Linked DNA regions of Homo sapiens: all the other regions are linked to region 1. The links are contacts of gene promoters, found by promoter capture Hi-C in blood cells and fetal thymus (Javierre and others, 2016). All regions are on one chromosome and are shown on one strand. The core of a region is centred on a gene start or on the middle of the fragment in contact, and the rest is flanking DNA. Distances in the headings are between cores, read along the strand shown. Region 1 holds the start of MAPRE3 (microtubule associated protein RP/EB family member 3). Region 2 holds the start of GTF3C2 (general transcription factor IIIC subunit 2). Region 3 holds the start of MPV17 (mitochondrial inner membrane protein MPV17). Region 4 overlaps SLC30A3 (solute carrier family 30 member 3). Region 5 overlaps CAD (carbamoyl-phosphate synthetase 2, aspartate transcarbamylase, and dihydroorotase).

The links. The method cuts DNA at HindIII sites, captures the fragments that hold promoters and counts their contacts. A CHiCAGO score of 5 or more calls a contact.
Region 2: the fragment with the promoter of GTF3C2 here is called in contact with the fragment with the promoter of MAPRE3 in region 1 in 12 of 17 cell types (total B cells, neutrophils, total CD4 T cells and 9 more); the score reaches 23.6 in total B cells.
Region 3: a fragment that was not itself captured here is called in contact with the fragment with the promoter of MAPRE3 in region 1 in 2 of 17 cell types (naive B cells and neutrophils); the score reaches 5.3 in naive B cells.
Region 4: a fragment that was not itself captured here is called in contact with the fragment with the promoter of MAPRE3 in region 1 in 5 of 17 cell types (naive B cells, total B cells, naive CD8 T cells and 2 more); the score reaches 8.7 in naive B cells.
Region 5: a fragment that was not itself captured here is called in contact with the fragment with the promoter of MAPRE3 in region 1 in 1 of 17 cell types (naive B cells); the score reaches 5.5 in naive B cells.

Annotation. Positions count from the first base shown.
Region 1 is chr2:26,968,412-26,974,578 of GRCh38, forward strand. MAPRE3 (microtubule associated protein RP/EB family member 3) reads left to right here and starts at 2,226. Exons shown (of 7, transcript NM_012326.4): 1 at 2,226-2,391. RefSeq lists a silencer at 2,111-2,440. The HindIII fragment of the contact is 16,247 bases long and covers 1-3,414 here.
Region 2 is chr2:27,353,816-27,359,982 of GRCh38, forward strand. GTF3C2 (general transcription factor IIIC subunit 2) reads right to left here and starts at 2,949. Exons shown (of 19, transcript NM_001035521.3): 1 at 2,924-2,949. GTF3C2-AS2 (GTF3C2 antisense RNA 2) reads left to right here and starts at 2,950. Exons shown (of 4, transcript NR_183827.1): 1 at 2,950-3,041; 2 at 3,993-4,087; 3 at 5,070-5,645. RefSeq lists enhancers at 2,343-2,956, 2,470-2,749, 2,800-3,139, 2,957-3,570, 3,150-3,279 and 1 more. The HindIII fragment of the contact is 6,500 bases long and covers 561-6,167 here.
Region 3 is chr2:27,320,322-27,326,488 of GRCh38, forward strand. It overlaps MPV17 (mitochondrial inner membrane protein MPV17), which reads right to left and starts at 2,776. Exons shown (of 8, transcript NM_002437.5): 1 at 2,731-2,776; 2 at 2,127-2,201. The coding sequence starts at 2,196. GTF3C2 (general transcription factor IIIC subunit 2) reads right to left here. Exons shown (of 19, transcript NM_001035521.3): 19 at 5,533-6,167. RefSeq lists enhancers at 2,171-2,220, 2,231-2,320, 2,331-2,380, 2,431-2,490, 2,613-3,585 and 3 more. The HindIII fragment of the contact is 4,230 bases long and covers 354-4,583 here.
Region 4 is chr2:27,249,921-27,256,087 of GRCh38, forward strand. SLC30A3 (solute carrier family 30 member 3) reads right to left here. Exons shown (of 8, transcript NM_003459.5): 8 at 3,764-5,540. The coding sequence ends at 5,392. Among named protein-coding and RNA genes, the nearest start is that of SLC30A3, 10 kb to the right of the region's middle. RefSeq lists enhancers at 1-332, 333-1,126 and a silencer at 1-142. The HindIII fragment of the contact is 7,629 bases long and covers 1-6,167 here.
Region 5 is chr2:27,232,824-27,238,990 of GRCh38, forward strand. CAD (carbamoyl-phosphate synthetase 2, aspartate transcarbamylase, and dihydroorotase) reads left to right here. Exons shown (of 44, transcript NM_004341.5): 19 at 219-317; 20 at 489-713; 21 at 803-985; 22 at 1,185-1,403; 23 at 1,695-1,862; 24 at 2,422-2,604; 25 at 2,713-2,817; 26 at 3,461-3,700; 27 at 3,926-4,007; 28 at 4,556-4,722; 29 at 4,895-5,059; 30 at 5,233-5,364; 31 at 5,608-5,809. Among named protein-coding and RNA genes, the nearest start is that of CAD, 19 kb to the left of the region's middle. The HindIII fragment of the contact is 1,738 bases long and covers 2,058-3,795 here.

The DNA.
Region 1 (6,167 bases), core at 976-3,475:
TCCCTATTGCCTTGGTGACACCCAGATACCCTGCAGATGCAGTTAGAAACAGCTCCAGTTGTCCAACTCTGTGGCTAGAAAAAAGTGTAGCCTGGGTTTTTACTCTCCTAACCCCTTGATTTGTTTTGGGAATTATTGTCTACAAAGAGCTCTCTCCTTTCTGATAATTGCTTTAGGTGGAAGAAGAGAGGATATGCTGTGTCCCCTCTCTTTTCTTACTTACTCTATTTGTAACTTTCTTCTTTTTTCCCCAAGAAAATGGGCTTAGTTGGGGTGCTTTGGCACCAATAGTCCTGCGGCGGAATCTGTGGGAGCTAGACAGGGAGATTTGGAAGAGAATGCTAGGTTGTGAGCTCTTGCTTTTGAGTTGTTTGAAGAGAATGCTGCATCTCTGGCATGTCAACAAGCCCAGCAGAATCCAGTAACGTTCACCAAGAAGGCTTGATTAGAGCTGGTTAGGGGATGATCAGGATGGTTAGGTGTGAAGAGCTTACGCTGATTATGGAGGGTATGGGAGTCACGGGGTTGGTACCCAGTGAGGAAATTTACCTTAGTAGAAACATTTGGGATAGTGTAGAAGAGAGAAGAGCTAGAGGCGAGGATTCAGGAAATAGAGAATGCCAGAGTCTCAATTAACAGGATGGAAAGCTAAGGAGATGAAAGACTTATAATAGTAGCATAGTACTAAAAGACAAACTATGTGTAAAGGTATTAGAAATGGGGACTGGGACTCTGAGGCAGTTAGGCCAGAGAAAAGAAGAAGGAAAAGATTTGTCTTCATTTGATTCAATTACATAAGCATTTCTCAGAATCTGCTATGTGTCACATGCTGTGGTGGATGCTGAGGGAGCTGATGAAAAAGACAGAATTCCTGCCCACCAGGGTCACATAGTCTGGAGACACAGACACGTAAACAAATGACGATAGTGTAAGGTGTGTGTAAGAAAGGAGGAATGTACAGGGTTGGTACAAAGGTGACCTCAAGGCATCCATGGGAATCAGGGCTGAGGGAGGAAGAGCCAGAAGACATCAGCACAAAGAGAACCAAGATGCTGAAGTCACAGGGGGAAAGAACATACTGGAGCCCCGGGCAGAGCAGTGCTGGACAAGGACAGCAAGTGTGGAGAGGAAAGGGAGATCCAGAAGAACCGAGGAGATCCATAACAGCATGCTTGGAGGAGGAAATTCGGGAAAACGAATGGACATGTCAGAGGGAGCTAGTTATGAGGAAGTGGACTGCAAACCAGATAGTGAGCAAGATGAAGAAATGAGGTGTTTATCCTTGCAATGGGAGAGAGACAATAAGGCTGACAAAAACTCAAGTGGTCTGTGGATAGACGATTTCGTTAGCTCGATTTAAGGGTAAAGGGCACACTCTCTGGTAGGAGATGAAAGGGGATGTTTAAAACAGGTAGAAAAAAATTGGGCCGGGCGCGGTGTCTCACGCCTGTAATCCCACCACTTTGGGAAGCCGAGGCAGGTGGATCACCTGAGGTTAGGAGTTCGAGACCAGCCTGGCCGACATGATGAAACCCCTGTCTCTACTAATAATACAAAAACTTTGCCAGGCATTGTGGCGCACGCCTGTAATCCCAGCTACTCGGGAGGCTGAGGCAGGAGAATTGCTTGAACCCAGGAGGCAGAGGTTGCAGTGAGCCAAGATCGCGCCAGTGCACTCTAGCCTGGGCGACAAGAGTGAAACTCCGTCCCAAAAAAAAAGAAAAAAAAATGAATTTGGGAATTAGAGAAAAAGACTGTGATTGGAACCCACACACCAAGAGAGGAGATAAAACCCAGCCTTAGCTCTTCCATGTCGCTGAAAGAGAAGAAAACGTCTCTTTTTCCTTTTCCGTAGCCATAAAAGATGAAAATCCGTCATCCAGCTACTGAAATCAGGTGCACACGGTTGTTCCTCCTGTGATGAGACAGGGCGGAGGGATTGTTACCCTGTTGCCAGGGAAAAAGGAAGGGGCTGTTCCCAGTTGCTATGGTGACGAGGTAGGCGCGTTCCCTCGGTACCGCCGCACACGTCTGAAGCGGTCTCTTCTCCTCGTTGCTACGGCAACGCAGTGGGCCTGTTCCTGTCGCCCCCCGCCTCCCGCCGCAATCGCTAAGGCAAGGTGGAGGTAGGGGCTGTCCTCCCGCGGCTCAGTTGCCTTGGAGACGGCGGGTGCCCTGGCCCCGCCCCGCTCGGACTGACAGCGGCGGCCGCATCGCGCCTGCGCAGTGCCCTCGTCCCCCGCAGTCTCTGTGCGTTGAAGCCGGAGACCGCGGCGGCCTCAGCGAGGACCCTCCGCCCCGGAGCCGCCGGCCGGAGCCGCAGCCTCTGCCGCAGCGCCCCCGCCACCTGTCCCCTCCCCCTCCGCCTCCGCCGGAGCCGCCTCGTGCACTGTGAGTCCGGGCCGAGGCGACGGACGCCGTGGGGCTGAGTCAGCGGGAGGCCAGGGCCCGGGCTGGGGGAGGGGAACCGGGCTCCCCCCGCCCCTGCCTCCCCACCCGCACTCCCGCATCCCGACCGCGCCTTCCCCGCGCCGGTCAACCCCCTCCATCCCTGTCGCCGGGTTCCCTCCGGCCTTGGCGGCCCGGCCTCCCCAGCCACTCCCCCTCCCCTTCCCTCCCCTCCCCTTCCCTCCGTCTCTCCGGGTCCACCTTGAGGCTCCTTCCCCACTAGACGTGGCCACCGCACCTCTGCCCTGGGCTGATATTTTCTCCAAACTACCTCCCGTCCGCCCTTATCCCTTCTCCCTCCTCCTCACTCCTCCTAGGCCTGACATCTCCCGGCCTCTCTGGATCTCCCCAGTGATGTGCCAGAAAAAGAGTGACAGGAGAGCGAGGGGAGACTTGGGGGAGGGGGAACATCGGGCCAGGCCCAGCCTGGGGGCCTCGGGTTTCTTCCCCACACGCTCCTGCCTGGCTGGTTTGGGGAAGCAGGTCTGGACAGTTCTCACTGGCTGCTCAGAGCTTGCAGGGCTTTCCGAATAGATTTGGCTGGGAAGGGTTCAGCCCCATCGTGATCATCTAGCGTTTAATGAACGCGGCTAGTGCCTGGTGGCCTTCTAGTGGGCTGAGCTACTGCCCGGCCGGTGTTGCGGAGCGGGGAGTAGAAGTAGTGGAGGGAAGGGAGAAGAGGTTGCGTTTGGGAGCTCCAAGTTCCTGCGCTTCCGGTGTGGTGTTGTGAATAAGCATCTTGCGGAACTCTTTAAAATGCTTTTTTTTTTTTTTAAATCGCACTACAACCCTGGTATAATGTGAGGTTTGGAAAAAGGCCTGATACCATCCATAGGAAGTGCTTACTGTTTATATATGAAGGGGCTGTGGCAGGACTTGATCTTGGATTCCTGTAAATTAACTAATTGGATAGTAGTGAGTTTTTAACATAACGTGTGCAGAGTTGAGAGGAAGGAGAAAAATCGAAGCTTCTCCATGGTGTAGGTGTGAGGCCTGTACACTGTGCCTCCTCCAGCTGTGTGTCTTTGTGGGGCTGTCACCAGATAGGGGTTCTAGCATATTTGGACAATTCCCTGGGTTATGTTTGCTACCCCTCCACCTGCCCATCTTGCAGTCCCTGTTCTTGGAATAGAAGAGGGTCCCAAACAGTTTTCTTTTTCCAGAAGAACTGAGTTGAAGTCAGAGTTAGTGCCCAGAGCCAGAAACTCTTAATAAACATGTCTCAACTTGAGGGCCCCTAACTACTATATGACCTCATTGTCAGCTTCTTTTTTATTTGGCTTCCAAATTTCAGTGTGCTTTTAGAAAGCACGTGTAAATATAAGCCAGATCTACCGCACAAGAGGCTTTGGGATTTTTACTCCAGATGGTAAAAGGAACGCATGGTCCATTTCTAAAAATCATGGTGAAGGAGCCACTCATTTGGAGTTTCCGGGGTTGCAAACAATGAGAAATAACTATTTCACTCTTTACTTTGCTCAATCATGGCCTATTGGCAGCCTCCTCATAGCCACTCCCTGCCCCCATGCCCATCAGATTAGTTTACAGTAGCCAAGACGGCTGTCGCCCTAGTTTTAAACATAGAGATGAAGTTCAGGAAAACTATAGCCCCCATCCAGCAGGGCAGTTTCTTCTGTTTCGAATGCCAGACTGGGGTTTGGTGGGATGCACCTGCCTGTGGTGCAGTGGGAACTGTGGGGCCTGAGAGTGGCATTCCTTCTGTGTGGTCCTGTGTCACATAGCTCACCAAAATACCCGAGCAGGGCAGGAGCAGACAGCTGTACTGGAGAGCTGCTCCTCCTGGGCTGAGTGTATTTTGGGAATCAGCGATATTACTGGGGTGGAGGGTTGTGAATTAAGGAGGAAGAAAATGTGTCAAGGCTAGATAGATCAGGAGGGTGTAAGTAAAATGTTCCTTTCCAGTTTGCTATGGGATAGTACATTTTCAGAGGATCAGAGTAGTTTTTATATGGATTAATTTGCCTTTGAAATCCATACCAGTGTTTTATGAGATAATGATGGAATGCCTTTTAAACTGCTACTATGAGGAAACAGGACTAATACTTGTCTTATACATTGCCTATCCAGCTGTTGCTGAATGTAATTGTTAAGATCAAGGAGAGGGACATGATTTGAACCAAGTTAGACCTAAATCTATGTAATGGTATTGAGGTTTTGTAGGACTGTATTCTTGATTCTAAGACACACCAGCAATTTACCAATAGCTTTTAGGTAAAATAATCTAATGCTACCAGATCAAAATATATATGCTGATTCCAAGGTGCATCCTCATTTTAGAAACATTAAAACCCTCGGGAAATGGCAAGACTTGAGGGAGGGATTTGTGAATCTTGGAACTGAGAAAGAATGCTATTGATAGTATTCCTGTGTGATGATGCCGTTTCTGACCTACCGTCCTGAGAGTGCATGCATTGTGAAGCTGAGTTTCTTCTAGTCCTTCCTGCACGCCAGCACACATTGTGGGGTTGTATTTGTAAGATGACTGGCTGGAGTTAGGCATAGTAGGAGGCTATTGAACGGAGGAAAGTTCCCATATGAGAATCCAACCCAGGGTCTTAATGTGGTACTCTCCAGAAACTGAGCCAACTAACTGGCAGCAAACGTCTTATGAGCTATTCCTGAATTTAGCCGAGTAACATTTGTCAGAAGCCGAACAGAAAATATAGTTTTTTTTTTTTTTTTTTTGAGACGGAGTCTCGCTCTGTCGCCCAGGCCGGACTGCGGACTGCAGTGGCGCAATCTCGGCTCACTGCAAGCTCCGCTTCCCGGGGTTCACGCCATTCTCCTGCCTCAGCCTCCCGAGTAGCTGGGACTACAGGCGCCCGCCACCGCGCCCGGCTAATTTTTTGTATTTTTAGTAGAGACGGGGTTTCACCTTGTTAGCCAGGATGGTCTCCATCTCCTGACCTCATGATCCACCCGCCTCGGCCTCCCAAAGTGCTGGGACTACAGGCGTGAGCCACCGCGCCTGGCCAGAAAATATAGTTTTTTAAAACAGAATGCATCTGCCCTGATTTGCTTACAGATACATTTGTAAAGGTCCCAAGGCACATGTCTCCCTCGCTTAGGATGTTAGCACTGGAGGTGACCCCAGATGGTATAGTTTAATGCCCTCATTTCTAAAGTTGACACAAGACACCAAGAGTTAAATGACTTACCTAAGGTCACCCAACCCATGCAGAACGTATGTAAAAACACTTTGTAAACTGTGTACACTAGGCAGATGAATGTTGGTGGTTATTAGTGGCTGAGTCAGGATTAGATCTCCAGATTTCCAGACTAGAGTTATTCTTCAACACCACATTGCCTCATCCCTCATAATGTTCCAAAGGGTTTTAATAAAAATAATTTAGTAGTCCGTAATTAGCCCTGTAGGCAAGGGCTTGTTTTGTCATCTGAGATGCTGCACAGCCAGGCAAAATTTTGTGTCAAACTGTCTAACTAAATATTTATTCTTGCCACTTTAAAAATAATATTTTTTATCACACATTCTGACTTCAGGAAGGTCTTTCTTTTTTTAATTTGCATCAACTAACAGAAAAGCAAATGTGAAGTTGGGTATTTGAAGTCTTTTCTACTTCTTATCTGTGAGACTGCCGCATTCCAGAAAGCAAGGTGGAGAGGCAGATGGGGCTGAGAGGAGGAGCGTGCACATTGGGCAGCTGCGGGCTTATCTTCCACCTCTCAGAATGGAACCT
Region 2 (6,167 bases), core at 1,699-4,198, 390 kb after region 1:
GGCCCAAGTGCTCCTCCCCATCTCAGCCTCTCAGGTCACTGGGACCACATGCACACACCAGCAGGCCTAGCTAATTTTTATTTTTTTTGTAGAGACAGGGTCTCAACTATCTTACTCAGACTGGTCTCAAATTCCTGGGCTCAAGTGATCCTCTAGCTTCAACTTCCAAAGTGCTAGGATTACAGGTTTGAGTCACCACACCCAGCCTATAACGTATGTATAAAGACAAAGCAAAACATTAAAAAAAAAAAAAAAAAGGGTGGGAGCCTGGACAACATAACAAAATCCTGTCTCAACAACAACAACAAAAATGTTTAATTAGCTGGGTGTGGTGGCAAATACCTGTAGCTCTAGCTATTCGAGAGGCTGAGGCAGGAGGATCGCCTGAGCCCAGGAGTTCAAGGTTACAGTGAGCTGTGATCATGCCACTCGACTCCAGCCTGGGTGACAGAGCAAGATCTTGTCTCAAAAAAAGTGGGAACCAATACAATGACTCTTGGCAAGCATTCAACTCAACTAGTGGAAGCAGACTGACCACGTCTACAGGAGAAAAACCTTCAAGCTTCAAGCATTTAGAGAGGAAATAAGAGTATGTCAGTTAACATAAGGAGCTAAATGGAAATCAGTTAAGAGAGCTTCTATACAAGTCTTAAGGATTTTCTAGGCCAAGTGCTGTGACTCACGCCTGTAATCCCAGCACTTTGGGAGGCCAAGGCAGATGGATCACTTGAGGTCAGGAGACTAGCCTGGCCAACATGGTGAAACCCCATCTCTACTAAAAATATAAAAATTAGCCCGGCGTGGTGGCAGGCGCCTGTAATCCCATCTACTCGGGAGGCTGAGACAGGAGAATCACTTGAACCCAAGAGGCAGAGGGAGAGGTTGCAGTGAGCCGATATCACGCCACTGCACTCCAGCCTGAGTGACAGAGGAAGATTCCGGTTTTTTTTAAAGGATTTTCTACATCAGTATACATATATTTATCTCATTCTTCCTAATTGCTGCATGGCATTCCATAGAATTAGTTATTTAGACAATCTTCATTTAATGAACAAATGAGTTAAAATACTATTTCAAAAAATACTGCAATAAATATTCTAGTACAAATCTCTTCATTAATTCATCAATAAATTATTTTTCTCGAATAATCATCTGAACATGGAATTACTGTACTACACTGAAGAACATGCACATTTCAAAATTTGATACTACCAAACGGCTCACCAAAATTAAAACTATTTATGTATATTAGTACCCATTTTATCATACCGTTACTGATCTTTTTAATTTTCGCCAATCTGATAGGTGAAAGAATTCTTCCCCACTCTATTTATTTGCACTGATAATAATTGGTGTCAGCAACTTCTTTCTATATATTGGACATCCATATGACTTTTATGAATTGCCTGTACATATAATTTGCCTGGCCGGGCACGGTGGCTCACGCCTGTAATCCCAGCACTTTAGGAGGCCGAGGTGGGCGGATAACGAGGTCACAAGTTCGAGACCAGCCTGACCAACATGGTAAAACCCCGTCTCTACTAAAAATACAAAAGTAGCCGGGCATGGTGGCACGCGCCTGTAATTCCAGCTACTCAGGAGGCTGAGGCAGGAGAATCGCTTGAACCCGGGAGGCGGAGGTTGCAGTGAGCCGAGATCACGCCACTGCACTCCAGCCTGGGCAACAAGAACAAAACTCCGTATCAAAAAAAAAAAAAATACACTTCTCATGGAAGGCAGCAGCAGGATGTAATGGTACAAATTCTGGATACACAGTAAAGGAATAGATGATCAGTAAATTCGTACTGAGTTTCTAAAACCTTCCATTGCACCCCAATCTGTCTGGTTCCCATGCTGCTCCAGGATGCCAGCTTGACCTCCCCAGCCAAGAAAAAATAATGACACAACACTGCACCTTAAGTATGAAATTACTTTGAATACACTGCTTAGCTTAATATATTGTTTCCTAAAGTGTTCCTAGGGTACAACTGGCGGTATGCAAGATGATTTTAATGGTACGAAAACGAACATTTTAATGACTAGTGCTTTTATTTCAACTTACATAAACAATTATAAGTAGCCCATGAAACCCACGGTTTCATTTATATTGCTTAGGTCGAGACTAATGCATTTAAACTTTTTAAGTAAGTCAATTTAAAGAGAACTATTCAGAAAACAATAGTACAATTGATAAGAGATTGCAAAAATAGTGATGGCACGGGATTGACTTAAAATTGTATATGCCTCTGGAACAAAGAGGTTTGTCCATACCCTATACATCCCTCCAACAAAGTGAGTTGCCTCCGACGGAGTTGAAGTCGCCACCTCTGACTTCCCCAACAGGCAGCCAACTTGCCACGGGACAAAAGGACTAGACAGGGAAACACAACTGGCCCTTGGTTACGCCAATGGCGTTGCAGCGCGCGGGGCACAACCCTCGGGGTTAAAGAGCCTCCTCGAGGAAGAGGCTGGGACACAGCTGAAAGAGATTGACCCACAACCACTCTAGGGGCCATCACCTGCCCTTCTTCAGTCCTGGGCGTGAAGGTAGATTTCTCCCCTAGCCTGTGCGGGAGAGGAGCCCTGGTTTTTCTAACAAGGACTACTGTAGGTTCGCCGAGTTCGAGGGACGCTACGTATGCAGCGCCTACGCCCGGACACAGGCTTCCGCGTTACCGACACCGCGTGGGGGAGGAGGGCAAGACCCGAGGCTTGCAGAGATGGGGGGTGCACGGTGGCCACAGTAGGGAAGGTGCGGAGCATGATGGTGCTCTGTAGGAGCGCAGACGCTGAAAGGCGCGCTGCTGTGGCTGGGAGAAGAGCGGAGCCAGGAGTTTGTTCCCAATATCTTAGTGCTATGGCAAAAGAAGGGGGAGGAGTAATTGTGGGGCCCCCCACACACCCGCTGCGGCGATACACTCACCCTCGCCAAAGTCCTTCCGGAAGTCTAAGTTCGAAGATGGCGCCGCCTGTCTGGTCGCGGTCTTATGACGAAATCTTGTTAGCTGCTCTTCACTGACGCCCCCACCCCAGTGCACAAGGTAAACACGTGTGCTTGGTCCGGAGTCGGTGCCGGGCTAGTTTTCTCTTAGACTCTGTATTCCATAATGCAGCGCGGCCAGAGTCACCGAGCCCTCCGAAGCCAGCCGAGTTCCAGGGCGTCTTCAGCGGCGCCAGGGACGCTGCAGGGCCTCATGGGAGTTGCAGTGTCAAAAAGGGGAGATCGACGCCTGCGCGGCCAACGGGATCCCACGCGGCCTCGACGGGAGCCGGGAGTAGGCGGACTCCCAGGCCGGGCTCGCGCTCTGGATCCCTGAATCCGGCCTTTCCGGCCGGACTGCCGCGCCTGTGGCCGGAAGAGCCAGCTAGACCAGAGAGTCTGTACCTGCAACCCTGGCGGCGTCCGAGCCCAAGGCGGAGTCTGGGAGACAAAGAAGTCCTCGCCGCCGGCCGCTGGAGGATTCTGCCAGTAGTGAAGTCAGGGATGGGCCCGAGAGAGCTTGGAAAGAGGACAAGGAAGGGAAGGAGTAGGAGTAGAAAAGCATGACTTTGGCTGGGTATGGTAGCTCCTGTCTGTAATCCCAGCACTTTGGGAGGCCAAGGCGGGGGAGGATCACTTGAGCCCAGGAATTCGATACCAGCCTGGGCAACATAGTGAGACCCCGTTTTTATTTTTATTTTTATTTTTTCCTGAGATGGAGTCTTGCTCTGTCCCCAGGCTGGAGTGCAGTGGCGCGATCTCGGCTCACTGCAAACTCCGCCTCCCGGGTTCAAGCAATTGTCCTGCCTCAGCCTCCCGAGTAGCTGAGATTACAGGCGCCCGCCACCAAGCCCGGATAATTTTTGTCTTTTTAGTAGAGAAGGGGTTTCACTATGTTGGCCAGGCTGGTCTCGAACTCCTGACCTTGTGATACGCCTGCCTCAGCCTCCCAAAGTGCTGGGATTACAGGCATGAGCCACCGCGCCCGGCCTAATTTTTTAATTTTTTCTAGAGATGGGGTCTCGTTATGTTGACCAGGCTGGTCTTGAACACCTGACCTGAAGTGATCCTCTTGCCTCAGCCTCCCATAGTGCTGCGATCACAGGTGTAAGTCACTGAGTTTGGCCATTATTCCATTTCTGTACACAAAAACCTTTCTCATTCTGTGCTATAACTAGTTAGCATTTAATTGGGTGGATGTGGTATAACTAGTGCCTTGTTGATATTGATGCATATTTACATGGTTTTGCTGTTATAAACAATGGTCCCTTGCTATTATAAATCACACTGCTATAAGTAACCTTGCATCTAAATTACTTCAAATGTGTAACTATATGGGTAGGATAATTTCTAGAAGTGGAATTGTGAACCAAAGTTTTAGGTGCATTTGTAATTTTGATTTATAACCAATCTTTTCACTGATCTACTTCTCTGCCTCTAATTTCTACTAGGTGTTTGTTTGTTTGTTTGTTTGTTTTGAGACAGGGTCTTGCTCTGTCACCCAGGCTGGAGGACAGTGGTGCAATCACGGCTCACTGCAGCCTCAACCTGCCACCTCAGCCTCCTGAATAGTTGGGGTGTGTGGCAGGTGTATACCACCACTTCCAGGTTTTTTTGTTGTTGTTGTTTAATAGAGATGAGGTCTTGCTATATTGCCCAGGCAGGTCTCACACTACTGAGCGCAAGCGATCCTCCTGCCTATGCCTCCCAAAGTGCTGGGATTACAGGTGTGAGTTGCCATGCCTGGCCCGGTTATCTTTCTAAAGCATAAAGCAACCCTGTTGATCCTCTGCTTAATTTTGATGATTAAGTAGTATGTTCAAAATATAGAAATCCATGTATTGATAATGATCTTTTAAAAAAAGTAAAAGCCAAAATATCAGCTACTCATCCTACACCATTGAAAGTAGTGACCATTAAACTGCTCTACCTCTACCTCCACCTCTCTACCTCTCTACCTCTCTACCTCTACCTCTACCCACGGTCTCCCTCTCTTTCCATGGTCTCCCTCTCATGTGGAGCCGAAGCTGGACTGTACTGCTGCCATCTCGGCTCACTGCAACCTCCCTGCCTGATTCTCCTGCCTCAGCCTGCCGAGTGCCTGCGATTGCAGGCACGCGCTGCCACGCCTGACTGGTTTTGGTGGAGACGGGGTTTCGCTGTGTTGGCCGGGCCGGTCTCCAGCCCCTAACCGCGAGTGATCCGCCAGCCTCGGCCTCCCGAGGTGCCGGGATTGCAGACGGAGTCTCGTTCACTCAGTGCTCAATGGTGCCCAGGCTGGAGTGCAGTGGCGTGATCTCGGCTCGCTACAACCTACACCTCCCAGCCGCCTGCCTTGGCCTCCCAAAGTGCCGAGATTGCAGCCTCTGCCCAGCCGCCACCCCGTCTGGGAAGTGAGGAGTGTCTCTGCCTGGCCGCCCATCGTCTGGGATGTGAGGAGCCCCTCTGCCTGGCTGCCCAGTCTGGAAAGTGAGGAGCGTCTCCGCCCGGCCGCCATCCCATCTAGGAAGTGAGGAGTGCCTCTTCCCAGCCGCCATCACATCTAGGAAGTGAGGAGCGTCTCTGCCCGGCCGCCCATCGTCTGAGATGTGGGGAGCGCCTCTGCCCCGCCGCCCCATCTGGGATGTGAGGAGCGCCTCTGCCCGGCCGCGACCCCGTCTGGGAGGTGAGGAGCGTCTCTGCCCGGCCGCCCCGTCTGAGAAGTGAGGAGCCACCCCATCTGGGAAGTGAGGAGCATCTCCGCCCGGCAGCCACCCCGTCCGGGAGGGAGGTGGGGGGTCAGCCCCCCGCCCGGCCAGCCGCCCCGTCCGGGAGGGAGGTGGGGGGGTCAGCCCCCTGCCCGGCCAGCCGCCCCGTCCGGGAGGTGAGGGGCGCCTCTGCCCGGCCGCCCCTACTGGGAAGTGAGGAGCCCCTCTGCCCGGCCACCACCCCGTCTGGGAGGTGTGCCCAACAGCTCATTGAGAACGGGCCAGGATGACAATGGCGGCTTTGTGGAATAGAAAGGCGGGAAAGGTGGGGAAAAGATTGAGAAATCGGATGGTTGCCGTGTCTCTGTAGAAAGAAGTAGACATGGGAGACTTTTCATTTTGTTCTGCACTAAGAAAAATTCTTCTGCCTTGGGATCCTGTTGATCTGTGACCTTACCCCCAACCCTGTGCTCTCTGAAACATGTGCTGTGTCCACTCAG
Region 3 (6,167 bases), core at 1,219-3,718, 350 kb after region 1:
TCAAGATTTTTTTTTTGTTGATTTTTTTTTTTGAGATGGAGTTTCGCTCTTGTTGCCCAGGCTGGAGTGCAATGGCACAATCTTGGCTCACCGCAACCTCTGCCTCATGGGTTCAAGTGATTCTCCTGCCTCAGCCTCCCAAGTAGCTGGGATTACAGGCATGCGCCACCATACCCGGCTAATTTTGTATTTTTAGTAGAGACGGGGTTTCACCGTGTTAGCCAGGTTGGTCTCGATCTCCTGACCTCGTGATCTGCCCACCTCGGCGTCCCAAAGTGCTGGGATTACAGGTGTGAGCCACCGCGCCCAGTCCCTAAACTCAAGTTTTAAAAGAGGAAACTAAGGCTCAAAGAAGCTTACTGACTTGTCCTGATTAATGCACCTACTAGGTGCTATGGTTTTAAGATTCAAATCCTGGTCTTCTAAGTCTGAAATCTCTGTACTGTTTTCCAGTGTGATGAGCTATCCCATGGGACCTTAGGAACTACTGTGCTGGGGTCCAAAAATGGCTCAGTGAACTAAAGCCACTTCCACCTTTTATTTGTAGTTTGATCCAAATACAGTGAACAGCAGGAAAGGAAAAGTCTGGATGGTCTGAAAAAGTCTGGGAAAAGTGCTGGGAGGCTACATTTTGCTTCAGGGCTGAGCTGGGACGTCAGCATAGCCTCAGGAAGACTGAGGCTGTGGAGCTGAAGGGCTCCAGCACCAAGAGCCCAGAACTCCAGCCACATGTCGGCACCTAGGCCTCCTTGGAGCTCTAGCTCCTGCCCTTGTCAGCTGCAGATGCCTCAGGTAGGGAAATATAAGGACTCTTTCCCTCCCTATTCTTGATGACCACAAGGGGGAATCTTCCATCTGGCAGTTATGGGCCCTGAGGGAATCTGAGCCTGGGCAAAGGGCCCAGCGTGTCAGTTCCCATCATAGCCACACTGTCCAGCATGAGTCACCACACACGTAGCCAGGTGAGTCATACAGGCTGACGGACGCTGAGGACAGGACAAGAGGTGGTTGGGCACCGGAGACTGGAGAGGGGCCCAGGGAAGGGCCAAAGAATCCATCTCCTGGCCATTCATGCAGTTAAGTTTCTGTGCCGATGCAGGGCTGTTCTGGTCACAGGATCCCTGTTCCACTCTGGCCTTCAGTAGCCCCCAATCCCTTCCAATAGTCCTCTTCTCAGAAGGCCAGTCATCACTAGAATCCTGTTCCCCTTCTCTAAACATGGGCAAGACCTCATCTTAATGTGATCACTCTTTGCACCCCAATGTTCTAAGGCCTTCTGACATTCCCCCTCTAAGACTTACTTATCTTCATGCCATCCTCTTACATTAGCTAACTTGCAAAATGAAGATGGTAACAAATGCAGGTAGGTCACTGCATTACCTCTGTGAGGTTAGTACTCAATCACTGCATTTGGAGTGACTGGTATCTGATCACTCCAAATGGATCAGGATGGAGTGATCAGATACCAATATACTAACCTTGGAGATACATATTTAGGCAGTAAATGATAACAAAAGCAAATGAACGATATAAACAAAACTCAGGAAATTTTGGGTGAATTACGGAGAGGCACTCAAGAGGTCTCAAAGCTGATTACTGACACAGGAGTGTTCAGTTTTAATGCCATTTAAACTGTACATACACATCTTAATCATTCTTTTGTATGTTTCACAATAAAAAATACCAAGAAAAACTGGGGTAAGAGTCTTGATTCAGCACTTATTAGGTGTGATCTAATGTGGACTCAAGTAACCCTCCTAGCTCACACACCTTTGTGGGGGCCCTATGCCATAACGTATATGAAAGTGCTTTGCATACGGTAAAATGTTTTCCAAGTTGAGGCCTCCTGGGGCAATGCCTTTATCCTTCAGGGCTGACTGTTCAGCTTTTTGAGGACTTTGAAATCCTAAAACCCTACTGCACAGCTTGGCCAACTACGCATACCCCTTAAAAACAGCCTTGGGGACCACCCTCCAAAACAGACTGGGGACAGTGTAGGATGAAAGACAGCCAACCCTTCAAGAGAGCCGAATAGAAACAGGAAGTGAGGGTGGTGCAGTGGGGCAAGCCTCTGGCTTCCAAATCAGTCTGCCCTGGTCCCACTCAAGTCCTAGAGGGACACTCACCAGCTGTCAGGACCTGTACTTTCCACGGGTGAGCGGCCAGGGCCCGCTGGTATGCCCGCCAGAGTGCCATGCTTCCTGTCAAGCCAAGAGGAGAGGGGGTCACCCCCACCGTCCCTCTCCACGACTAAGAAGCCGCCTGACATTCCCTTGTGCCCACTCCCTTCCCCTTCCCACTTCCAATGTGACTTAAAGGGGCAGAGGCCACATGAAGGATGCTTCCCAGACAGCTTCCTGTCGCAGGAGTCGCCTTAGACAATTGGGGAAGAGAGAAAGGCTGTGGGAAGCTATGGACTCCTGGTAGCAGCCACCAGCCACCCCAACCTCATTCCTGAAGCCAGACCACCTGGAAGCCTCCGTTCCCGACGGAGACACTCATGAGGACAGCTTTGCTCTGGCTTCTACCCAGAGCTTGGGTGCCTCAAAAGATAGCTTGGTCCGTCTCCAGATTCAGACTTGGTTGGAACCAGTTTGTAACCTTCCTGAGTCCAGCTCCAAACCGAAAATAGGGCCCGTCACTGCCCGGATATAGGATGACCACACACCTTGTGGGCACTCATGGCTTGCGACGCTTTAAGCCAGAGACCGCAGATCACCCGCCACTCACCTGAGCGCCGAGCCTCCCTCCCACGTGACAGGCTGGCCTAGGAACTTCCGCCACAAGTCCCGCCCCTTCCTCCCAGCGTCCTTCGGATTACGCAGCCAGGACAGGAATGGGGGTGGACCGAGCCATGAATACCCGTGGAGAGCGGCCTAACTCGGCCACCCACTCTGTGAGAGACCCCTTTTCCAGCTGGACTGTGCCGGACCCTGGTGTGGGGCCCGCCAGCCATATTTCTCACCTAAGTTCGACCCTCTGCCTCCTCCTGCCCCTTCTCTCCGCGCGAGACCCGGGCCTCTCTCAATCCGGTAGTCTCATTGTTCAGCCCACCCTCCCCGCATAACTGGCCATAACTACGATCCTTGTCTCAGCAATCGTAGTTAGGGAACTATAAGTTATAGTTAAGTGCGTGTTTTGTCTCTAGGTTCTTCACTGGCCTCAACTGTGAGCTCATGAGTGGGTAAAACTGGGGTCGTTCATATTTGTCGTCCTCATAGCAACTATTTCAGTGCTTTGCCGCAAACAGCCACTTAAGAAATACTGCGTATGTATGATTCTTCCACAGAAAGCATTGGAATTAGAACCTCAGAAGACATTAGGTATTGGCTCCCAAACTAACGGGCTGTGCAGCCTTGGTCATGACTAGACTTGATGTTAAGGCTCTGCATCTGTAAAATGAGGGAGGTTACACTATTGACTTTCCAAACTCGGCTCCTCAGTTCTAGGGATTTTTCAGATGTTTGTGTGTGGGGATGAGAGGGGCAGCATTACTACAGCTGCTTCTCCAACTTTTTTTTCCAAGTATATACTTCTCAAAAGACCCATTTTTAACGGGGCCCACAACTGCATGTTTGAAAACCAGTAAGCTAGGTGATTTCTTAATCCCCTTCCAGCTCTAACATTCTAAGAGTCTGTGAATATAGAGCAATATCCTTTCTAGAGCGTTGGAAATGTCTACAATATCCCTGGCAATGGACTTGTCAGGCTGGCAGGCTTTACTTATCTCCAGGGAGCCCACACGTCAGGAGGCACACTCTTTCAGGCTCTCCACCTGCCCAGCTCCACCCCCAATTTACTCAATTCCTTTATGATTAAGGCAGGGAGACTCCTGCCACAAATCCTGGAGAAACAGAGTAAGGAAGCAAGAGAAGTCAATGTCACAAACATTTAACTAAAATGCTATTTGCAAAACAGCATGCTAGAGGAGTGAACTGACAAAAGTAAATGTAATAGGAGACCAAATGTGGTAGGCTGTAAAGTTATATTCTGAAGTTAGACTGAGTTCAAATCCCCAGCACCACCACTTACTAGTTATATGACCTTGACCTTTTACAGACAGCTTACCCTCTCCAACTCTTTTATCATTAAGTAAAATGGCAATACCTACCTCATACAAGTGACACATGCGAAGTGCCTAAAATGGATCAAGTGCTTAATGCTTGTTTATCCTTTTTCCTCCCTTCCCCCTTGGGAACACAAGGGAGGGAAACTATTTTTTACTGGAGAAAACTGGGAAGCTCTTTGGTGAAGGTGGAATTTGAGCCGGGACCTTGAAGGATGAATTGAACTCAGGTGAAGATGGTGGAAAAAGACACTCTGGCGAAGGGAGGAATATGAGAAGAGGAATAAAGGTAGAGAAGTGTATGAACAATGGATAGTATGAAGTGGGTATATTGGGAGGGAGGGTTAGAAAGAGAAAAGGCTTGTTAGAGAAAAAGAACAAGGTCAAGACTAGGGCTGAGACTCAGTTGCAGAAGCAGGGCTGCCAGCACCAATCTACAGCCTCAAGTGTGGATCCCCAGGTCTCATCTTTTCTACCACTGAAAATAGGAAGGGGGCTGCCCTGTAGAATTGAGTAAAGCTTCTCTTCGACAGAAGGCACTTGCGTAACAGCTCAAAAAACAAAACTGGCTCAATGTGAGCTGGATCCCAATAGGGTAGTGCAACACTTGGCTTCTTTGCACTGACATGGGTTGTGGTCTCTGCTGTTGATAGACTTGGGTTTCCTCCAGGTCTATTTTCTCATCTGTACAGGATAGGGGCTGAACTCTTTTTGAGACGGAGTCTCGCTCCGTCACCCAGGCTGGAGTGCAGTGGCAGGATCTCGGCTCACTGCAACCTCTGCATCCCAGGTTCAAATGATTCTTCTGCCTCAGCCTCCTGAGTAGCTGGGATTGCAGGTGTGTGCCATCACACCTGGCTAATTTTTTACATTTTTGGTAGAGACGGGGTTTCACCATACATTGGCCAGGCTGGTCTTGAACTTCTGACCTCAAGTAATCCGCCTGCCTTGGCCTCCCAAAGTGTTGGGATTACAGGCGTGAGCCACCACACCTGGCCAGGACTAAACTTCTTGATCGCTTCTTCTTAAAGGAGATTTTCTGACAGATGATAAAGTCCCTACACTACATATTCAGCCAGTCTAGAATGCCAGAGGGTTTTGTTCCAGGTAGGCACTGATCTCATCTCCACTCTCTCCAAAAAGCAGCTGCCTGTTTTTTTCTATTTCCTGAGGTCATCCAACTATTTCCCTCCAAACCCCAGCCTATACTCCTAGGCATTTCAAGACCATGGTTTGCCTATTTCTCATCACTGGGGTGTGTCCTTGCTTAGGAGGCAGTATCATAGTCACTGTGAGTCTGCAGCATCCCACAAGAGGACTCTAACAAGATGAGATATAACAATACATTACAGTACTTGGGTTCTAAACACCTCCTATACATAGAACTGAAGTAGGTAAACATTCTAATGAGTCAACAATGTGACAGTATCATGAAGGATCAAAAATCATGACGTGTAAAAGAATGGTTGAAGTAACTGAAGATATTTAATCTAGAGAAGATTTGGGAAACACATGATAGCTATGGTTAAATACTTAACAGGGCAATCACAGGGAAGATGACTAGATTTCCTAACATCCATGAGTGAAATTTATAGAAGTATACTCTCTGACTTGATATAAAGGAAGATTTTAAAAAACATGACTGTTCAGGAGTGTTCAAGTAGGGTCAGATGACCAGTGATTGGGAATACTTCGTAAGCAGGAGCAAGTAAGATCTGAGCCACTGTTCTATCGGTAGGGTGTCTGTGGTATTCCTTGGTCAAAGAAGTACTCTAAGCAACTTCAGTCTCACGAATTACTATCACCCTCGTGGGCATACATGATGGTTACCCTAAAGAGGAAGTTTCAGAAGGCAGTAATATTGGATCCTGGAATAGTCAGACAGGAGCCTTCATGCAGATACCCTTTTCAGTTCTCCATACACCCATTCACAAGTGGTCACAAAAACACCCAGTACCTTTACTTGGCTTTACCCACTTAACAATATGCTCAATATGAGCAGTTTGACTCCCAAGCCTAGGTCAGGCCTGAGTGTTTCTCATGAGCCATAGTCTTAGGCTGAGGAGCCTTGAGAGTTGGTGGAGGGAGAGCCCCCCTGCCC
Region 4 (6,167 bases), core at 2,091-4,590, 280 kb after region 1:
TTGAGCCCAGGAGTTTGAGGCTAGCCTGGGCAGCATAGCAAGACCCCATCTCAAAAAAGGAAAAAGCCCCCACACAGCTGCATCTGGGGCCTCAGGCTTTGCCCTGTTGGGGCCTGGGAACTGCCCCTCCAAGCACCCCTTGGAAGGTACTGACCAGGTACTGACGAGGTGTCCCTGGGACTTAAGCCAGGGACAGGGAGGCCCTGGGAACTGCCAGAGTTGGGGGAAGGGAGGTTGGAGAGTTAAGAAAGAGTACTCCAACTATAAAAGGAACACCCTGACTACAGTTCTCCACAGTGAGGGTCTCTGCCTGGCGGAGGGGAAAAGGGTCTTCCCGTCCTGACCCCAGTCCTGAGACTCCCTGCAAAGACTTCCGGCTGCCTCTGCCGCTGCGGTGGCGTATGCCCCAGTTGGGGGCGCTGCTCCCCAGCCAGCCGGGCTCTAGGAAGCGGGAGGGCCAAATGCCTCCTTTAAGCCGGCTGCACCGGGGCCCTGACCGGGCGGGAGGGCTGCTGGAGGGTGGTGCTTATCACCCGGGCTTCCTCTTGACCCTGCCGGCTGGGCCCTGGGCCTTGGCCTTCGCCTCTTAAACGTGGTGCAGGACTCACCCTGGGCCACCCCCAGGTGGGCAGCCTTGGGAGAAGGGCAGGACCTGCCCATGTGCCCATGCTCCTCCGCCCAGTCACTGCAGCACGAAGCCTCTCAGGTCCGCACCCTGCATTCTGGCCCTTTGATCTCCAGTTTCTCCTTTGAATAGCCCTGCAGCTCTCAGCAGGGAAACCCGGCCTGCCTCTCTCTCCCTCCACTCTCCATTTCACCCCTTTCCTGGCTGTCCCTCTTCTCTGGTTCCTCTCTGACCCGAAAGCCCACCCCTCCCCTAGTTAATCAGCTGTGTAAAGAGCTGGGGCTGGGCTGAGGGATGGGCCCTCCCCCACCTGCGTTGCTCTCCCCTGCCTTCCCCTCACCCCTCCCAGGCCCAGTCCCTTCCCCTCGACTCTCCCTCCTCCATCTATCATCAAGGAAGGGCACCCAGGGGAAAGGGACTTCTGGATAAGCGAGTGGAGAAGGAGGATAGGAGGATAATGGGGGAGTGCAGGCAGCTCTGCAGATAAGGATTTCCTGGGCTCCCGGGGATGGTGGCCCAGTGTGAAGGTGGGAGAATGCTCCAGAGACCTGTCTCCTCATCCTCCCGATGCCCGAAGGTGAGTGGAAAGGCAGGATGGCATAGAGAGAGGGCTGGGGACGTCCAGGGGCCAGAACTCAGAACCGAGTGGAACCAGCTGCACGACCATGGGCAGGTGAGCCTGCTTCTCCATCTGTCAGGTGCACAGGATACTGTCCGCACCACAGTGCCTTGCACAAAATAAGCTCAATGATTGCTGCTTCCTGTCCCTGCTGTCAGGGTGCCGGGCCACTCTCTTCTCCTGAAATCTCTCCCCTGCATCCTGGGTTCAACCCAAAAGCTAACTCTTATATACACCTTCTATATACCAGGCACATTCACACCCATGATATCACGTAATCACTATTTTATAATTGAGAAAGCTGAGACGCAGAGAGGTTAACTGTGACTAGAATAATAGTAAAGGCAGAGCAGAACCAGAGGGTCTGACCCCAGAGCCCCAGGACGGGAGTGCCAGCGGCAGCAGGCTGCTGGAAGGGCTGAGGAAAGATTTGCTGAGAAACTCAACTAGGCAAGAGCTTCAAAGGGGCCTGGAGTGGGAATGAGAGCCTGGGCATGTGCTGGCTGACCCTGGGGAAGTCTTTTTCCCTCCCTGAGTCTCCTCCTTCTATGGGCAGAAGATGGACTGGATGCTTGGTGAAGGCATTCACCTGCCCTGAGCATTCCCCTGCAAAGGGACCCAGCATCGCACAGATAGGACAGGCTGTGGCTTAAAGCATTTCATAGGGTGAAAATCGAGTCCTCCTGTTCCCCACCCTCCTTCCCTCTCCTCGATTTCCTCACTCTTCCCCACCCCCATCCTGTCACCTGGGGCCTATAATCAATGAGACGTAAAATGAGAAAGTATCAGGAACCAGCAAAGCATGGCGAGCAGCTGGGGCGGCCTTGCCGCCGGGCGTGATGGACTGCCAGCCCTTCGCTTCGCCAGCCTCCCACACCCTGACGTGGGCAGTGGCGTCTCACCCAGCCTGGGCTAAGGCTCCCAGCTGGACATCAGGGAGGGGGCTACCTCTGATGAGTCCAAAAGCCTCACCTTTAAAAAGGAATGAAATCTATGGTCTTGACATGGAAAGATGAGTCTAGGCTGCATGGTTGAGTCATAAACACAGGTAACACGATCTCACCTATAAGATGACCCCATTTTTGTTATTATGTAGAAATACTGACCCCATACTAGGATTAGCAGTTTTCTCGGAAAGTAAGATTACAGGGGAAACATTCACTTTCTACTTTATATACTTTTCCTTTGTTGTACCCTTAAAACAAGTATATATTGCTTTTATAGTAAAAATAATCTGATAATAAAGATATTTCTATTATGAGGAAGGCTCACAGAAATATGCATGGGCTATTGAAAATGCTCAACGTCCTTGCTTTGGGCTGGGATTTTATCAACATGGTGGGAAGGCCTGAAGCACTAGATCTAAAATCAAAGCACAGAGTCTAATTTTTTTTTTTTTTTTTAAGACAGAGTCTCCCTCTGTCGCCCAGGCTGGAGTGCAGTGGCGCAATCTCAGCTCACTGCAACCTCTGCCTTCCGGGTTCAAGCGATTCTCCCTGCCTCAACCTCCCGAGTAGCCAGGATTACAGGTGCCCACCACCATGCCCAGCTAATTTTTTTTTTTTTGAGACAGAGTTTCACTCTTGTTGCCCAGGCTGGAGTGCACTGATGCAATCTCGGCTCACCGCAACCTCTGCCTCCTGGGTTCAAGCAATTCTTCCGCCTCAGCCTCCTGAGTAGCTGGGATTACAGGCATGCGCCACCACACTGGCTAATTCTTGTATTTTTAGTAGAGACGGGGTTTCTCCATGTTGGTCAGGCTGGTCTCGAACTCCTGACCTCAGGTGATCCACCCACCTCGGCCTCCTGAAGTGCTGGGATTACAGGCATGAACCACTGTGCCCGGCCAAATTTTTGTATTTTTTAGTAGAGACAGGGTTTGACCATGTTTGAGACACAGTCTCACTGTGTTGCCCAGACTGGAGTGCAGTGGCACAATCATGGCTCACTGCAGCCTCGACAACCTGGGCTCAAGTGATTCTCCCCACTTAGCCTCTCAAGTAACTGGGACTACAGGTACACACTACCATGCCCAGCTAATTTTTGTATTTCTTGTACAGACAGGGTTTCACCATGTTGCCCAGGCTGATCTTGAACTCCTGGGGTCAAGTGATCTGCCTGCCTCAGCCTCCCAAAGTGCTGGAATTACAGGCGTGAGCCATCTTGCCTAGCTGATTTTTCTTTTTTTTTCTTTTTTTTTTTTTTTGATGGAGTCTTGCTCTGTCGCTCAGGCTGGAGTGCAGTTGCATGATCATAGTTCATTGCAGCCTCAACCTCCTGGGCTCAAGTGATCCTCCCACCTCAGCCTCCTGAGTAGCTGGAACCACAGACATACACCACCACACGTAGCTAATTTATTTTTATTTTTAATTTTTTTTGTAGAGACAGGGTGTCACTATGTTGACCAGGCTGGTCTTGAACTCCTGGCCTCAAGCGATCCTCCTGCCTCAGCCTCTCAAAGTGCTGGGATGACAGACATGAGCCACCAAACCCAGTGAGTTTGATTTTTTTTTTTTTTTGAGACAAGGTCTTGCTCTGTTGCCCAGGCTGAAGTGCAGTGGCATGATCATGGCTGACTGCTGCCTTGACCTCCTGGGCTCAGGCAATCCTCCTGCCTCAGCCTCCTGAATAGCTGGGACTACAGGTATGCACCACCACACCCAGCTAATTTTTAAATTATTTGTAGAGACAGGGGTTTCCCTAGGTTGCCCAGGCTGGTCTTGAACTCCTGGGCTCAAACAATCCTCCTGCCTCAGCCTCCAAAGGGCTGAGATTACAGGCACAGGCCACTATGTCCAGCTTGAGTTTGATTTTTTTTAAAGAGAAAATCAACAATCCCTTAATGAGCCTGATTTTAAGACTTAATGTGTCAAAATATGCAGTTCTTAAGACAAAGGGGGAATAGGTGTAAAAGAGGTCCTTGGTGTTCACAGCCTAAACCTGGACTCAGGGTTGGCTGCTATCAGGGTTGAGGGGTCCCTACCGCTGGACACCTTAGATGGCCTGAGAACCAAGCCCACATCAGTGCTATGGTCTAGCCATTCTCCCTCAAAGGGACCCAGCCTCCCTCCAGCCAGCCTGAGGCCCACTGGCATGCAGGGACCTCTGAGAACGACTGACTCCCAGGGATTCCTTGGCTCCTTACCTTCCAGCATTCTCCTGCAACCAAGCCCAGGGCACATGGGACTGTCCCTGAGCCAAGGACCCAGGCATGCTGTGAGCCAGGGGAAGGGGAGTAAAGAGACTGGTGGCTTTTACCCTCCATCTGAGGGTGGAGGGGCTGGGAAGGGACAGGAGGTCTGTGGGAGGTCACTCCAGAGGCTGGGAAGGGACAGGAGGGATTCTGTTGTTCTCAAGTGACCTATTTGACTTCCCCCTCCTGAGGAGTCAGCACACAGGCTGAAAGATGCAGTGAGACACAAGTTTATTGGTGGAGCTGCAGCGGAGTCCTCCCTCTTTCAGGGATAGCCAAGGGCACAGCACCAACAGAGGGATGGAGAGATAGACCCCCAAACAGACACATGGATGGAGCAGACTCATAGAAACCATAGCACAGCCACATAGGCACAGAGACACACAGGCCACAGCACCAAGAACACACACACACACACACACACACACACACACACACACACAGACAAAACCACAGGGCTAAGACACACGGACAAAGTGCGGGCTTTGGGGCCCCTGCATAGACAGAGCGAGGGCCATGTGGGGAGGGGGCCCCTACTGACCTCCCCCAGGCATAGGCACACCAACAGCACATAGACAGGCAGATGCCCCCAGCCAGCCAGCCTGCCACACAGACAAATGGACTGCAGGGAAAGGATGTTCGTGGCTCCACATGAACCATGGGGAGATGGCACCACAGGCCTTCAACACACCCTGCCACACTGAGGCCTGGGAGTCCCCGCCCCTGAACTAGTCACATCTATTCCCCTGACTCCCACCCCACTCCCCGCCACACTTTGGTCTTGCCCACTGGGGCTGGGGCTGGGGCTGAGGCTGGGGAAACTGGCAGGTGGTAGGAGGGAGAGAGGAAGGGGTATGGACCTGGCTCGGTCCCGTCTCTGTGATCAGGGCAGCAGATGCTGAGAGTCTGGGGCTGAGCCTCGGCCTGGCAGTGGGGTGAGGGCAGGGCCATGGCTCAGGCTTGGGGGGGTTCCTGGCAGCGCAGGCACTGGGCCATCTCCGGCTGATACTGCTCGACCTGCAGGGTGCAGCTGGAGAATCCAAACCGGGAGTAGAGCCGGGATGAGGCTTCAGCCAGGACGGCTTCAGGGTCAGCGGTGGAGTCTGTGGGAGAGTGATAAGAGGCGGCATCCATCCCGGGGGAGAAAGAACAGGCAGGGACTGAGATAAGGACAGGGAAAGGGGCTGCACAGCATTAAAGCCAGGCGTGAATGGAAGCCTGCTTTTCTTTCTGTATTGTATGAACAGCATAAAAGTGTCAAATCAAATGTTGGAGAGACTCACCCCAATCAACCATGCTAACACACTAAACTCTTTCCAGTCTCCTATTCTCTCCTGTCATTAAGTGTCAACATACAGCTCAACATTTCAGCAGCCATACCACCCGATTTCCCAGGACAATCCAGTTGTTAAATATCTGTCTCATTGTCCCTCTAGAGTTTCCATCAAATATCCCACAAATTATAATATTTTTGGCATACAAATTGCATGACTCTGATTGCTTCTTGCATCTGGAAGAAACTCAAAAATCCTTTGTCAGCTCATGACTCACCATATATATTTTTAATAGTTGAATCATAATGTAGATGCAATTTTATATTCAGCTTTTTTCTCAGCATTATACCATAAACATTTTTCATAGTTGCTGTACAGTCTTCACAAGCATCATTTTTAACAGTTATGTGATACCTCAGGGTGGAGGTGCTGTAATTTACCTAACTGTGCCCCATC
Region 5 (6,167 bases), core at 1,677-4,176, 270 kb after region 1:
TCCTTTTAGGCCATCTCTCATGCCCCACACGGTATATGAATCTCTTCCCCAACACTTTGTACCTCCTTCCCTCCCAAGGCAGGGGTCCTGTACAGCTCTTTCAGAGGAAGCTGTGCTGGCAGTCTCTGAAGTAGGGGCTTTGGCTTAGTTTCTCCACGATTTTCTCCACGATTTTCCTCCCACCTGACTGCTAAGTACCCTTCCCCTCCCTCTTGCAGATGGGATATAAGACCATCATGGTGAACTATAACCCAGAGACAGTCAGCACCGACTATGACATGTGTGATCGACTCTACTTTGATGAGATCTCTTTTGAGGTGAGGGAGATGGAGGCTTCCTGGTAGCTTGAGTGGCCAGGGTCGAGTAGAACAGCTGGCTGACCTAAGATTCTTTGAAACTTGGTGGCGGCTGAGGGAAGCAGTGAGCAGGAAGGCTCAGATTCCTGCCCTCTTTTGCTGCCACCACTTGTTTCTCCCCCTGCAACGTAGGTGGTGATGGACATCTATGAGCTCGAGAACCCTGAAGGTGTGATCCTATCCATGGGTGGACAGCTGCCCAACAACATGGCCATGGCGTTGCATCGGCAGCAGTGCCGGGTGCTGGGCACCTCCCCTGAAGCCATTGACTCGGCTGAGAACCGTTTCAAGTTTTCCCGGCTCCTTGACACCATTGGTATCAGCCAGCCTCAGTGGAGGGAGCTCAGTGACCTCGAGGTGGGCTGGGACCTGGTGGGTTACCCGGAGGCTGGATGATGCTTGGGGGAAAGTGTGAACAACTCAGCTAAGCTCCCTGCCTCCTGTAGTCTGCTCGCCAATTCTGCCAGACCGTGGGGTACCCCTGTGTGGTGCGCCCCTCCTATGTGCTGAGCGGTGCTGCTATGAATGTGGCCTACACGGATGGAGACCTGGAGCGCTTCCTGAGCAGCGCAGCAGCCGTCTCCAAAGAGCATCCCGTGGTCATCTCCAAGTTCATCCAGGAGGCTAAGGTGGGAGGCTGCAGACAGTGAAGTCTCTGAGGGCATGCTGCCAGCCCTGGAGGAGACTTCCTTCTCTGGTCCAGCAGAATCATAGGCACCAGGGCTGGGAACAGTGGGCTATGTGGGGCTCGTTAAAGGAAGAGACAATCCTAGAGTAAGTGAGAGAAGAAAGTGGCCCTATGTCCCACTGTCTGTGTCCCCCCGCTAGGAGATTGACGTGGATGCCGTGGCCTCTGATGGTGTGGTGGCAGCCATCGCCATCTCTGAGCATGTGGAGAATGCAGGTGTGCATTCAGGTGATGCGACGCTGGTGACCCCCCCACAAGATATCACTGCCAAAACCCTGGAGCGGATCAAAGCCATTGTGCATGCTGTGGGCCAGGAGCTACAGGTCACAGGACCCTTCAATCTGCAGCTCATTGCCAAGGTAATAAGGCTAAAGGAAAGAACTAAAGGGCCACAGCTCTTGCATGTTCTGTGCTGGCCACAGTGCCATGAAGCCCTGCACTGTCTCCTGCCTTCATCCAAGTAGGCAGGGAAGCTGGAGGGAAAGGGCTGTAGCTAGAGCTCATGGTGTTGGGGCTTATGACAGTCAGTGACCCTGAACCCTGCTCAGTCTGATCCCCCAGAGCTGAGGACGGAGAGGAAGAGTCTAGGCCTATAGATAGTGTCAGCAAGGCCAACCTGCAGAAGGCCTGACCAGTCTTCTCTGCCCCAGGATGACCAGCTGAAAGTTATTGAATGCAACGTACGTGTCTCTCGCTCCTTCCCCTTCGTTTCCAAGACACTGGGTGTGGACCTAGTAGCCTTGGCCACGCGGGTCATCATGGGGGAAGAAGTGGAACCTGTGGGGCTAATGACTGGTTCTGGAGTCGTGGGAGTAAAGGTAAGGAATATCGAAACCCTTGGGGTTAGCAGAAAAATAGCGGGAGAGAGTTCACTCACCACACAGAGTTGTCAGTATGTAAACCAGGCACTGACTGCAAGGCATTGCCGGATCGTGGGGGTAATGAGGTGGTCATTGTCCCTTAAGAGCTTACTTTATGGTAATGGGAGGGAAGAGAAGTTGGATCCCCAAAAAAGCTTTGGTATAGAACAGTCCGTGGTAAAACTACATATTCGACCTGTAAACAGAATGCTGCAGGAGTTCAAGAGACAGGAGGTGCTGCTTCCAAAAGGGGTGATCTGGGAAGGCTTGAGCGAAGGGGTGCTATTTGAATTGAGTTTTGAAGGATGGTTAAGGTTTTTTATTTGCAAGGGCACATCCTAAGCAGAAGCTGAGGGATGACCCCAAGTACGTTTGGAAAGCAGGAGGGCACACAGAGAGGGCAGGCTGACCCTGCCATTCAGATGGGATCAAGCACAGGGTACTGTGTCCGTCTCTGCTGGTGAGGGAGGAGGTCCTCTCACACCTTGGCCCTCTCTCTTCCCTCCCGCCCCTTTAGGTGCCTCAGTTCTCCTTCTCCCGCTTGGCGGGTGCTGACGTGGTGTTGGGTGTGGAAATGACCAGTACTGGGGAGGTGGCCGGCTTTGGGGAGAGCCGCTGTGAGGCATACCTCAAGGCCATGCTAAGCACTGGCTTTAAGATCCCCAAGAAGAATATCCTGCTGACCATTGGCAGCTATAAGGTATCAGAATCCAGGAGGGCTTCCCGAGGGCCGTGGCTCCCTGGGCCAGGGCTGACCTTGAAATGGAAGACAGGAAGAAAACAATTTCATCCTTCTGTTTGGTTTCAGAACAAAAGCGAGCTGCTCCCAACTGTGCGGCTACTGGAGAGCCTGGGCTACAGCCTCTATGCCAGTCTCGGCACAGCTGACTTCTACACTGAGCATGGCGTCAAGGTGCAGGAACTCTGGCAACCTACCCCACTGCTGCCCTTCCCCAAGGGGGTGAAAATACTGCACCAAAGAATTATCTGGGCTGGGCACGGTGGCATATACCTGTAGTCCCAGATACTCAGGAGGCTAAGGCAGGAGAATCTCTTGAGCCCAGGAGGTAGAGGCTGCAGTGAGCTGCGAGTGTGCAGTGAGTGCACCACTGCACTCCAGCTTGGGAAACAGTGAGATGCTGTCTCAAAAAAAAAAAAAACAAAGAATTATCTCCTATTCCCCTGCTTTTATTATTACCATTATACTAGTAAGCTATATTCCATGCAGAAAGCAGAATACACAGGAAGCAAAGAGAAAAGTCTCTTAAAATCTCTGTACCACTGTTCTGATATTTTTCCTTCCAGGATTTTCTCTGTGTACATGTGTGTGAGCTCATACTGCACCTAGTCCTTGGTAACCCATCTTACTTAGTGTAGATATCTTTCCTGCCAAGAAATACACTTTGCCAGTATCAAATAGAGGCAGCCCTCAGTGCCCACCCTATGGGTCCTCAGTCTCCTCATCATGGGCTCCTGGGCCAGCTCCTCTCCCTTAAGGCTAGCCTTCCTGACCGCTGCCAGACAGCTTGGCCCTGACCTTGACTCCGGGTTGGCAGGTAACAGCTGTGGACTGGCACTTTGAGGAGGCTGTGGATGGTGAGTGCCCACCACAGCGGAGCATCCTGGAGCAGCTAGCTGAGAAAAACTTTGAGCTGGTGATTAACCTGTCAATGCGTGGAGCTGGGGGCCGGCGTCTCTCTTCCTTTGTCACCAAGGGCTACCGCACCCGACGCTTGGCCGCTGACTTCTCCGTGCCCCTAATCATCGATATCAAGTGCACCAAACTCTTTGTGGAGGTAACTGAGACCCATGTGCTGGGAGGGAGACTGCCAGTGTTGATGGGAAGAAGAAAGAGGGAGGAGTGAGTATGGAACAGCCATGCTAGTAATAAAGCTTTGTGGCTACAGAGGGAGAGATGGTGGGTATAGAGTGTGCAGAGCCTGGTTTATGGGAAAACCACATCTCTCCCTACAACTCCCAGGATCACCCTTCCCTTAAAGCTGACTGCTTTCCACTTGCAGGCCCTAGGCCAGATCGGGCCAGCCCCTCCTTTGAAGGTGCATGTTGACTGTATGACCTCCCAAAAGCTTGTGCGACTGCCGGGTAAGTCTTTGGGGAGAACTTGGCTTCTGAACACTGGCAGCCCCTGGCATAGAGACCTGCAGTGTGGTGAAGGATGGCTGGGGGGCCCACTCTTTGTCCTGGACTGCACAGACTGTGAAGACCCCAGAATGTTTCTCACTCTTTCATTCCTTAATCCACAGTGTCCACAGTGGCCTTGTCTGAGGAATTTTTTTTTTTTTTTTTTTTTTGAGACAGAGTCTTACTCCATCGCCCAGGTTGGAGTGCAGTGGTGTGTGATATCGGCTCACTGCAACCTCCGCCTCCCAGGTTCAAGCGATTTTCCTGCCTCAGCCTCCCAAGTAGCTGGGATTACAGGTGTGTGCTACCACACCAGGCTAATTTTTGTGTTTTTAGTAGAGACGGGGTTTCACCATGTTGGTCAGGTTGGTCTCGAACTCCTGATCTCAGGTGATCTGCCCACCTCGGCCTCCCAAAGTGCTAGGATTACAGGCGTGAGCCACCATGTCCAGCTCACCCTTCCTATTTCTGAATCTTCCTGTAATCTTGCTGCTTCCATTTTCTCCCAGGATTGATTGATGTCCATGTGCACCTGCGGGAACCAGGTGGGACACATAAGGAGGACTTTGCTTCAGGCACAGCCGCTGCCCTGGCTGGGGGTATCACCATGGTGTGTGCCATGCCTAATACCCGGCCCCCCATCATTGACGCCCCTGCTCTGGCCCTGGCCCAGAAGGTGAGCCACTGCACTCTTCCTGGTATTGGAGACCCATATGCCCCTACCAGCCACCCTTGCTTCCCTGAGCCCTTTTCCTTCTGCCCCGCCCTATGGGCCCAGGCCACTGGTGCCAGGCTAGCCTGTGTGGGCATGGGTGCCAGTGAGCCTTACCTCTGTGTATCCTCTCCAGCTGGCAGAGGCTGGCGCCCGGTGCGACTTTGCGCTATTCCTTGGGGCCTCGTCTGAAAATGCAGGAACCTTGGGCACCGTGGCCGGGTCTGCAGCCGGGCTGAAGCTTTACCTCAATGAGACCTTCTCTGAGCTGCGGCTGGACAGCGTGGTCCAGTGGATGGAGGTAGGGAGTGTGCATGTGGCAGGAGGCCACCACCCAGTGTCTCCTGGCTTGTGGGCCCCTGCCTAAGTGGGCTGGTAGCAGTGAGGATTCAGGGGAGCTCCTGGGGACTCTGGGCTCTGATGAGCACAGTCAGAGATTCTGCACACTCCTTCATCAGTTCTTTCTGCTCCCAGCATTTCGAGACATGGCCCTCCCACCTCCCCATTGTGGCTCACGCAGAGCAGCAAACCGTGGCTGCTGTCCTCATGGTGGCTCAGCTCACTCAGCGCTCAGTGCACATATGTCACGTGGCACGGAAGGAGGAGGTAAGAGTACACCTGAGATCCTGCTGTCCCTGTTGCTTTCCCAGTAACACCAAAGGTCAGGGTAGTCCTTAGGGGCAGGAGACAGCAGGAGGAGAGTCTGGAGACAGCAGGAGGAGGGTCTCGAGCCAGCACCCTTGCAGGTCTACATCATCATTTTTTGAGCAGGGATGTTGGCCATTGGGACTTTGTGTAGGGCAAGGCATATGGGTGGTGCCTCTTCTGGATCTTCCCATTGTTCCCCAGATCCTGCTAATTAAAGCTGCAAAGGCACGGGGCTTGCCAGTGACCTGCGAGGTGGCTCCCCACCACCTGTTCCTAAGCCATGATGACCTGGAGCGCCTGGGGCCTGGGAAGGGGGAGGTCCGGCCTGAGCTTGGCTCCCGCCAGGATGTGGAAGCCCTGTGGGAGAACATGGCTGTCATCGACTGCTTTGCCTCAGACCATGGTGAGAGAATCCAGCATGTACCTCCTCTGCCCAGTGGGGCTTGTGGGACAGCCCTAGCAAGAAAATGGGAAGCAGGCCAGGCCTCAGGACTCTACTAGGACAGGGTCTTGATCCGTATGGGACCCTAGCCTCTAGGGTACCTGGTCTGTGATAGGTGCCTGATAAATACTTGTTGAAAGAATGAATGAGCCAGTGAGTAGAACTGCAAGTGAAAGAATACATGGGTAAAAGTGTGGGCTCCAGAAGATGGCAGCAGTCCTGTTGCCCTTGTTTCTAGTTCCCAGAAAAAATGAGCATTGGGAGTGGTAGTGAGCATAAGGAGGTTGTTGGAAGTGCAGTCCTGGGGTGTGAGTGACTT